Linked DNA regions of Homo sapiens: regions 2 and 3 are each linked to region 1. Evidence: promoter capture Hi-C in 16 types of primary human blood cells and fetal thymus (Javierre and others, 2016). All regions are on one chromosome and are shown on one strand. The core of a region is centred on a gene start or on the middle of the fragment in contact, and the rest is flanking DNA. Distances in the headings are between cores, read along the strand shown. Region 1 holds the start of TRA2A (transformer 2 alpha homolog). Region 2 has its middle 29 kb from the start of NUP42. Region 3 overlaps GPNMB (glycoprotein nmb).

Region 1 (3,276 bases), core at 344-2,843:
TTTTGTAGAGATGGGGGCTCACCATGTTGACCAGGCTGGTTTCGAACTTCTGGCCTCAAGCGATCTTCCGCCTAGGGTCTCCAAAGTACTGGGATTACAGGCGTCAGCCACCACACCCAGCCAAGTTCAACATCTTTTCTAAGAGCCAGATGTCATTTAAGTTTATCCCTATCAATAACTGACATTCAAATGCTGAAATCTTGCCCCCAGTGGTAGCAATCTTCATAATAATGCCAGATGAACTTTCCTACCATAGAACTATAGTTGAAAGTCTATGTCAATCTTTTTACTACAAAGCACTGTAGGAAAAAAATTTAAGATGAAACTAATTTTTAAAGTTGCATTACACAAGTAAAACTCATCTCAGAGATTATTACTATGATTGGGAACCAAGTTGACAGATTTGGGAGGTCTTCACTGTGAAGCTTTATGGAAATATCTAAGTCAAAAAAACTAGTAGGGAGCTAAGCATTATAAAAAAAAAACTACACGGCTGTCTCTAGGAGGGGGAACTGGAGCAGGGACACGAGGCAAGGAGCAGCGGCTTTGCATCATAACCTCATCTGTGCATGTACTACGTCGACATTACACAGGGCAAATATGGAAGAAAAGTAATACAGTCAGCTGACAACGTGCCCCCCAAAAGCCTGTTATATATACACGATTCCAGCCGGGCGCGGTGGCTCAGGCCTGTAATCTCAGCACTTTGGGAGGCCGAGGCGAGCAGATCGCTTGAGTCCACAAATTCGAGACCAGCCTGGGCAGCATGTCAAAACCCCATCTCTGCAAAACACACAAAAATTAGCCGGGTGGGCCGGGTACGGTGGTTCACCCTTGCAATCTCAGCACTTTGAGAGGCCCAGGCGGGCAAATCACCTGAGGTCAGGAGTTTGAGACCAGCCTGTCCAACATGGTGAAACCCCCGTCTCTGCTAAAAATACAAAAATTAGCCGGGCGTGGTGGTGCATGCCTGTAATCCCAGCTACTGGGGAGGCTGAGGCAGGAGAATTGCTTGAACCTGCGAGGTGGAGGTTGCAATGAACCTAGATAGCGCCACTGCACTTCAGCCTGGGCAACAGAGTGAGACTCCGTCCCAAAAAAGAAAAAAATTAGCCGGGCGTGGTGGCGCGCGCGGGAGCCTGAGGTGGGAGGATCGTCTGAGCCCGGGAGTTTGAGGCTGTGGTGAGCAGTGATCGCTTCACTGCACTTCAGCTTGGGTGACAGAGCGAGACCCTGACTCAAAAAATAAACAAACATAAAAAAACGCTTCCAATGTTTTGTTCCCTTACATCAGAATCCACTTGGACAATATTTAAAGGGGCTAAGGTCATATAAGGCTCATCTGGCGACTGAAAAGTCTTCAAAGAGGTTGACGCGTCCGAGGTGAGTCTGAAGTTTGGAGGACAGCACGGGACCGCGATTCCAAGGCGCCCAGGTTGAGAGCGCAGGCCGCCCGCCAACCTCCACCCTCGCTCCAGGCCCAGCCGACACAAAGCCTCGCGGGAGGTGGAGCCTCGTGACGTCACAGAGACGCCCGCCCCCTTTACGTCGTGCTCTGAGGAGGCCAGGAGATTTCTGGCGGCGCCGGCGCCATTTTGCTGGAGCCTGCGACCGAGTGGGAGTGGAGTGGAGCGGCTGTGGTTGCCGACTCTTTCCTCTTCCCCACGGTCCAGTCAGCGGGTTAATTAGGCCATCGGCCCTCGAGCCGAGACTTGTCTCTTATTTAGTTCTGGGGAGCGCCTCGTCGACATGAGTGATGTGGAGGAAAACAACTTCGAGGGCAGAGTGAGTACAAAGCCGCGGGAGCCGTCTAGGCGGCGGCCCAATGCTCGGGGTTTCACGGGAACAAGCGCGGTCGGGCGGGGTTGCGGGTAGTCCCGCGAGGAGCAACCTCTGGAGCCATCGCGATTGATTCCTCCCATCCCAAGATGGCTTCTGGGTTCCACTCCTTCCCCAAACACCACGGATAACACCCCTCCCCCTTTTTTGGAGGCTGACTGATACCTGGACTTCTGGGTCCTCTTCCCTCCCCGCCCCCGCATTGCTTCCTCCCTTCTCCCCACCCCTGAGGCTTCCTTATGTCTGCTCCGAGGTGTGGGTCCCCGTCGCGGTTGGGCGGGAGGAGGCGGCAGGGAGCTCCCCTCCGTCCGGATAGTGGTAGGTGCTTCCTGCGGTGGCATTTCTGGCGACCCCGAGCATCGTAGAGGGTCTCGGGATCGAAAGTGCGCGGGGCTGCTTTCCGGGCGGGGAGAAGCTGGCGTGGGACTAGCTGGGGCCTGTGTCTCCTTGGCTCTCTATTTCAGTGAGCGGCCGCGTCTCTGTTGGAACCGGCGGCGTTGCGTCTAAAAAGGCGAAAGCCTTGAGGTTGAAGGTGGGACGAGCCTAATGAAGTGGTTAGTCAACGACCGCACCGACCCTTAAGCGTTCTTAAGACGAGAGCTGTGAGGGGAAACTACGCAAGGAGCCCTTTTCCCTTAATGTCCCTTCGACTTTCCTTTCACTTCGAAATGAATGTGGAAATGCTGTCACGCCTTATTTTTCTAATTCCTCGATGTTGGGTTTTTTCTCTTCTTTATATCTCAACTTTTAATGCTCTTCTTCCTATGACCTTTCATCTAAAAACTGACCACTCCTTTACAGGTTTTTACGGTAAAAAAAAAAAAATCTGTCTTTCTTTAATCTTACATAGCTGAACGAATTCATTGGCTCAGTATTTTTAAGATAACTAGTCAGTATATACTGTTCTGTAACTTAAAAGATGACCTGAAAATTAACAGGCCCTCTCCCATTTCTCTTCTCACTCTATCCCCCACCGAAGAGGGCTCAGAAAAAAGTTTTTATTAATATATTTGGGGTCGGAGAAATACAAACATCACAAAGAATACGATATCCCCAGCTTAAATGTACTGGAACGTTTGTCAGTGAGTTTCATTTCCAAAGTTTACCCTACATAGGGAATTGTAGAAGTGAGTTAGTAGAAGTGAGTTCGTGTGAAACCCTGGAAAGAAAACAAAAGCCCCATGCAACACGTTCCGGGCTGTTGTGTAGATGTTTATTCTAGTCACTAGGGGAAGCACATAAAAACACCTGAGGTGTGTGTGCTGAAGGGCGAATTTTGTCCTTTTGGGGAGTTCATGATATAAACATCTAGAACCAAAAAGTCAAATCAGAAGGTCAGTTTAGGCTTTAGTTCTCTTTGAGGAAAGATTTAAAGCAATAGACTATAATAGTTACCCGGTAGACTAAAAAATTTGCCTTTAATTCTTTTGATTGGAA
Region 2 (3,276 bases), core at 278-2,777, 320 kb after region 1:
GATGGCTTGCAGGTAAGGTTTTTAAGGGCAGGGGTAAATGTCAGGAAAACAGAAGCTACAGGCAAATCATAAATCAATACATGGAGGCTCCACATTGATTTTGGCCGAAAAGGGTGAGATATATTGAAGCTAGGGGCTTACATGTCATAGGTAGATTTAAACATCTTCTGGTTTGCAATTGGCTAAGGAAGAGAAACTTTGTTTAAAAATGTAAAGCCAGTAGAGTTAACTGGTTAGGGGGAGTGACTTTCTCCAAGCCCTTCAGGAAAAAACTTAGAACAAAGGACAATAAAGTTTAGTCTTCATTTCCCCCTTATCTGGGGTCTACCTGCCATGCCCCTGATCAGTTTGGGGGGTCCTCAGTTAGGGGGTCCAAGCCTCTGAAAGACAACTCAGGGACATACGTGAAGATACTATCTTTAATTTCTATAGGGAAAGCAAACATCTCTGGGACTCCAACTTCTTTAGCTGTTGTTTTAGGCTACTATCACCTTCTTGTTTAACAAGTTATTTATTTACTTCTCAGGGCTAGCTAGGCGCCTGGAATTTCCCCTGAAGGAACTTAAGATTTATTTCCATGCTTACGGTCCACAGGCCTCTAAAAAAAGGGAGGGTCCGTGCTCCACCTCACACAAGGTTGTGGCGGGCCGCTGGAACCTCATGTCTCCCACATGCCTAGAGGGAGCAGCCTCCAGAGGAGAATGGCATCTCTCCTTCCTTCTTGCAGATATTGAGCAGGAACCTTTTGCAGGCCAACTTGAATCCGGAACCATGGGATGATAGGGACTCTGGGAAATGTAGTTCCGGCGTCTCACCTGGGAGCCCGCAGAGTGGGTACTGGTGATGGACAGTTAACTGCAGACTGCCCGTGCAGTCTGAGCGTGCTGCGAGGAAAAGGGATGAATGCCCACCAGACTTCACAGCGATGACCTCTTGGGAGGGGGATTTCAAATGGGAAGGGAGAAGAGGCTATGAAGAGAGAGAGCTATCCTCTCTCTTTTTCTTTTCTTTTCTTTCTTTCTTTCTTTCTTTCTTTTTCCCTCCCTCCCTCCCTCTCTCTCTCTCTCTCTCTCTATTTATTTTGAGACGAAGTCTCGCTCTGTCGCCCAGGCTGGAGTGCAGTGGCGCGATCTTGGCTCACTGCAAGCTCTGCCTCTCGGGTTCACGCCATTCTCCTGCCTCAGCCTCCCAAGTAGCTGGGACCAATGAATGCTGGGGACAATAGAGGAAGTCCCAGAGAGGATGCTTTCTGGCCCAGCTTGGGTCATGTGTCCTTCCATGACTGGGTGAAGAGGGAGACCAGGGAATGCAGGAGAAGAGGGTGTTGATTGTGAGTGCCACCCAGCATGTGTGGAGGGCTGGCCTTGGAGTGCAGGTGACAGTGACCAGTGTCCTCTGTGATGCCTTCTGTTTTCTCTGTGAAGCAGGAGGTGGGCTATTCCTCAGAGAGAGGACAGATGAGAAGACAGTGGTGAAGGTATGGACTTGCTGCTGTGGGAACAGGTGCTGAGCCCACTGGAGGTGCCACGTGGACTGCAGCCCAGGGTCACTGAGGTGGCAGGCAGCAACCTCACAGGGCACTTTCCTCTGCAGCCCTCCACCCCACAGGTGGGCTGGGCAGAGGAGACAGCCTCCCAGGAGCACAGGTTGGCCAGCCAAGTGCTTGGAGGAAGAGGAGACAGAGGAGTTGAAGTTAACACATTTTCAAAAGAATGATTATAGCCATGGGCCGTGCAATCTTGGCTAAAGAAATATGCAAGGCCAGGAGGTGGCGAAATCATGTGGGGATGGTTCTCTCTTCCCCTATTTGAGTTTTCCTCTCCCTGTTGCAGCTTATACCCATTTTGGTCTCAGGTTTGGCTTTTTAGAAGCTGCTTGGCTAGTTAGAAAGCTGGAGTTGTATTAGAGTCACCTCTGTCCACTTCTCTGGGGACCAGTGAGCTGTGTAAGGTGTTACTTTCTAGAAGTAAAAATTTTTTTTCCTTTTGTTTTGTCGAGATTCATCTCTGGGGTGAATGACAGGCTCATACATTCGGTACCATTAGATATTGTAAAAACTAGTCTGCAGAGCCGATCAATGCCTGATGCATCTTCAGAGCAGCTGAAAGTCCTTTCCCTCCAAATCTTTGTTGTTGTTGTTGTTGTTTGTTTGTTAGATGGAGTCTCGCTCTGTTACCCAGGCTGGAGTGCAGTGGTGCAATCTCGGCTCACTGCAACCTCTGCCTCCTGGGTTCAAGCAATTCTCCTGCCTCAGCCTCCCAAGTAGCTGAGATTGCAGGAGCCCACCACCATGCCTGCCTAATTTTTGTATTTTTAGTGGAGATGGGGTTTCGCCATGTTGGCCAGGCTGGTCTCGAACTCCTGACCTCATTTGATCCACCTGCCTTGGCCTCCCAAAGTGCTGGGATTACAGGTATGGGCCATGTGCCTGGACATTTTCTCTGGTTTTGATGGGGGAAAAAAAAGCCCAGAAGACCCAAAGCAATGTCCATGCAATGCTGGTCCAGGGGGCTCCCTGCAAGGGACTTATGAAAACATTGCTGATCAAACCCCCCATCCCCATGGCTCTTATTGCTGTATGTATTCAATTACAGCAAACTCATTACTTGCTCCCCTTTGAAATGTGAGAGGCTTTTTCTGTTTTCAGAATGTACACTGTGGAGAGGATGGGGGCAGGGAGCAATTTAACAAATATATTACAATTAAAATTGTTCATACTTTCCAACTCAACATTTTCACTTACGAAACATTCCTGCATTGTGCAAAGATATATTTTCTAGAAAGTTCTATTGAAGCATTATTGGCTCAGAACTAGGGGCATGGTTAAATCAATTAAACAATGGAAATATAATGGAATACTACACGGCCTTTAAAAACAGGCGTGTTAGCTAGGCACGGTGGCTCATGCCTGTAATTCCAGCACTTTGGGAAGCCGAGGTGGGTGGATCACGAGGTCAAGAGATCAAGACCATCCTGGCCAACATGGTGAAACCCCGTCTCTACTAAGAATACAAAAATTAGCTGGTCATGATGGCTTGTGCCTGTAGTCCCAGCTACTCGGGAGGCTGAGGCAGAAGAGCTTGAACTTGGAGGCGGAGGTTGCAGTGAGCTGAGATCGTGCCACTGCACTCCAGCCTGGTGACAGTGTGAGTCTCAAACAAACAAACAGGCACATTAATCTATTTGTGCTGACAGAGAAAGTTCTTTGAGAAGATGCAAATAGTATAACATTGATAATTATGAGACTGTATAAACATTGGAGAAATGTGTGCAAAA
Region 3 (3,276 bases), core at 477-2,976, 280 kb after region 1:
GAGGAAACAGCTAACACATTAAGGGTGTCAGAGTGGAAAGATGAAAAGAAATGGAGCCTTCAATGAAACTGTTGGGCTGTTGCTCTAGTCTTGCTTACCTCGGGACTGACTAAGATAATAAATGTCTTAACCTATTTTGTTACAGCCCAAAGCTCAATTATCTGTATTCCTCAGCCAATGGTCTTAAATTGTTCTCCCATTAATTTCTGTGGTTCTATGTCTTGGCCTGGCTATAGACTCTTGGAGGAGAGAAACTCTGTCTTGTTCTTCTCTTAAATCCTGGGAGAGATCCTCCATGAGGTGTGGTATTGAGTGGGTGCTCAGAGAAGCCATATTGGATGCATGTCTCTGACCTATTCCTTCTATTCCTCTTCTCTGGTAGGAGAAGGGAGCAACACGTTCCCTTCTTCTCCAGGAGGCAGAGAGAATGGGAAAGAGCAGCAAAGTCGGAGTCATGGAACATGTTTTCTAGCCTTGGTTCTGTTATTAAACAGGATGTGTGACCTCAGGCCATGTGTCTTCTCTGGGCCTTCACATCTGACAAAAGCCAAATGTCCTGTGATTCTATGAGATTGCTCCTATTTGGAAATAGACATTAAGTGAGGGGAGGACATTTGTGTTTATCAATAAGTATTTGTAATTGGAAATTCACTTGAGTCATATGAAAAGAACTAAGATTATTTAGTTCAAATCCCTTCATTTTATATATGAAGAAATTCAGGCCTAGGGAAATGATATGATTCACCTAGGGTCATCTTTAGTAGAAATCAAGATTCACATCTTTTGATTCCCAGGACAAGGACAAGTTCTTTCCACTGTTCCAGAGAGTCTTCCTCTTCCTCAGATCTTGAAAGAAAGTTATTGTTTCCAGGAACATAATCAAAACGCAGATTTCTCTTCCGATTTTAAATGTCAGAAGCCCAGGAAAAGTATAAACTTAAAAGGAGAGTTACAAGGGATAGGCACATAGGTCAATGGAATAGAAGAGAGAATCCAGAAATAGACCCACACAAGCATGCTCTACTAATTTTTTTTTTTTTGAAGAGATGGGGGTCCCACTATGTTGCTCAGGCTGGACTCAAACTCCTGGGCTCAAGTGATCTACCTGCCCCAGCCTTCCGATTAGCTAGGACCACGGGCAAGCACTACAGTGCCTGGCTTGATTTTGGACAAAGATGCAAAAACAAGCCAATGGAGGGAAGATAGCCTTTTCAACATATGGTGCTGTAAAAAAGCAAAAAGCATAGGTGAAATCTTCAGGATCTAGGACTAGGCAAGAATTCTTAGACTTGACATGAACACAACCCGTAACAGGAAATTGGAACTCATTAAAATAAAAAACCTTTGCTCTCTGAAACATGACATGAAAGAGGATGAAAAGGCAAGCTACAGACTGGGAGAAATTATTTGTAAACTACACTTCCAATAAAGGACTAGTATTTAGAATATATAAAGAATTTTCAAAACTCACTATAAGAAAACCACGGGATTCAATTAGAAAAATTGGTAAAAATTAATGAAATGATATTTCACCATTTCATTCATCTCATGGCAAATAAACACACAAGAAGATATTCAACATCATTAGCCAGTAGTGAAATATCACTATATCCCTATCAGTAAGACCTAACTAAAAAGCAGTGACAACATCAAATGCTTGCAAGGATGTAGAGAAACTGGATTGCTCACACATTACTAGTGGAAATGTAAAATGGTACAGCCACTCTGTTAGTTTCTTGCAAAACTAAACATGCAACTATCATACAACCAAGAAATTGTACCCTTTGGCATGCATCCCAGAGAAACAAAACTGATATTCTCACAGAGATCTGCACATGAATATTTATAGCAGCTTTATTCATAATAGCCCAAATTGAAATAACCCAGATGTCCTTTAATGGGTGAATGGTTAAGCAAACTGTGGTACATCCATACCATGGAATACTACTCTGTGACAAAGAGGAACAAACTATTGATGCAGTTACTTCAATAAATCAATAAAGTTCCAGGAAATTATGTTGGGTTTTAAAAAAAGCAAATCTCAAAAGGTTACATACTGGATAATTCCATTTGTATAGAATTTTGGAAATTACAAAATGATAAAAATGGAAACCAGATTAGTGGTTGCCAGGGACTGGGTGAGGTTTGGAAAGAGGGAAGTAGATTTGGCTATACATCTATAGCCATGAGAATACTTTGGTGATGGAGCTCTGCTGTGTTTTCACTGTATCAATGTCAATATCTGGGCTGTGATGTCCTGTTTTGCATGATGATACCACTGGGGCAAACCAGGTAAAGGGTGCATGGGGATCTCTCTGTATTATTTCTTACAACAGTATGTGAATCTATAAATACCTCACAATAAAAAGTTGAATTTAAAAATAAAGGCCGGATGCAATGGCTCATGCCTGTAATCCCAACACTTTGGAAGGCTGAGGGTGGGCGATTGCCTGAGCCCAGGAGTTCCAGACCAGCCTGGGCAACATGGCAAAACCCTGTCTCTACAAAAATTTAAAAAATAAAATAAACCCATCCGGATAAGGTGGCTCATGCCTGTAGTCCTAGCATTCTGGGAGGCCAAGGGAGGACTGAGCCCAGAAGTTTGAGGCCAGCCTGGGCAATGTAGTAAGATCCCATTTCTACAAAAAATACAAAAATTATCTGGGTGTGGTGGCACGTGCCTGTGGTCCCAGCTACTCAGGAGGCTGAGGTGGAAGATCACCTTTAGCCCAGGAGTTGGAGGCTGCAGTGAGCTGTGATCACACCACTGCACTCCAGCCTGGGTGAGAGTAAGACCCTGTCTCTAAAAAAATTGATTAAAAAAAAAAAAACCCAATAGTAAGCAGATTTTAAAAGAAAAATAAAAGCCTGTGGGGGTGGGTTTTGGGGGCAATCAATGTGAAGGTAAATTTGAGGTCGCACCCAGTGCTGCAGCCGACTCTGCCTCCACACTTTGGCATCCTTGCTGTGTCCACCAGCAGAGAGGTGGTGGCTGGGCTGCCTCCACCTACCTTGTCCACACTTTCTCCTTCCTTCAGGGCTACGAATGGAAAATGGTAGGAAATCTTTAGTGCTTGATACACTGCTACATTCTGCCTGCCCTTATTTTTTTCTGGGCAGAATATTTAGTCCAGAGCAAGGTGAACCTGGTGAATGGCTGGGTTTTGTTACACTGCCCAAGAGGCTGAGGACTCCTCTCGAGCTGACAGCGCTGATTCGGCCTCCTGCTAATCTGTTTTATTGAGCAGAGCGAAGTGGACTGGTGAAAGAGGGTGG

What was found. Contacts are between HindIII fragments. The CHiCAGO score rates a contact against its expected background, and 5 or more counts as called.
Region 2: a fragment that was not itself captured here is called in contact with the fragment with the promoter of TRA2A in region 1 in 1 of 17 cell types (monocytes); the score reaches 5.8 in monocytes.
Region 3: a fragment that was not itself captured here is called in contact with the fragment with the promoter of TRA2A in region 1 in 2 of 17 cell types (monocytes and neutrophils); the score reaches 6.6 in monocytes.

The regions. Positions count from the first base shown.
Region 1 is chr7:23,530,298-23,533,573 of GRCh38, reverse strand. It overlaps TRA2A (transformer 2 alpha homolog), which reads left to right and starts at 1,593. Exons shown (of 8, transcript NM_013293.5): 1 at 1,593-1,785. The coding sequence starts at 1,750. RefSeq lists enhancers at 355-854, 1,214-1,333, 855-1,356, 1,504-1,723, 1,734-1,783 and 3 more. The HindIII fragment of the contact is 3,554 bases long and covers 428-3,276 here.
Region 2 is chr7:23,209,200-23,212,475 of GRCh38, reverse strand. No RefSeq gene overlaps it. Among named protein-coding and RNA genes, the nearest start is that of NUP42, 29 kb to the right of the region's middle. The HindIII fragment of the contact is 7,777 bases long and covers 1-3,276 here.
Region 3 is chr7:23,248,332-23,251,607 of GRCh38, reverse strand. The region is part of intron 1 of GPNMB (glycoprotein nmb); the gene reads right to left. Among named protein-coding and RNA genes, the nearest start is that of GPNMB, 3.2 kb to the right of the region's middle. RefSeq lists an enhancer at 3,262-3,276. The HindIII fragment of the contact is 5,429 bases long and covers 1-3,276 here.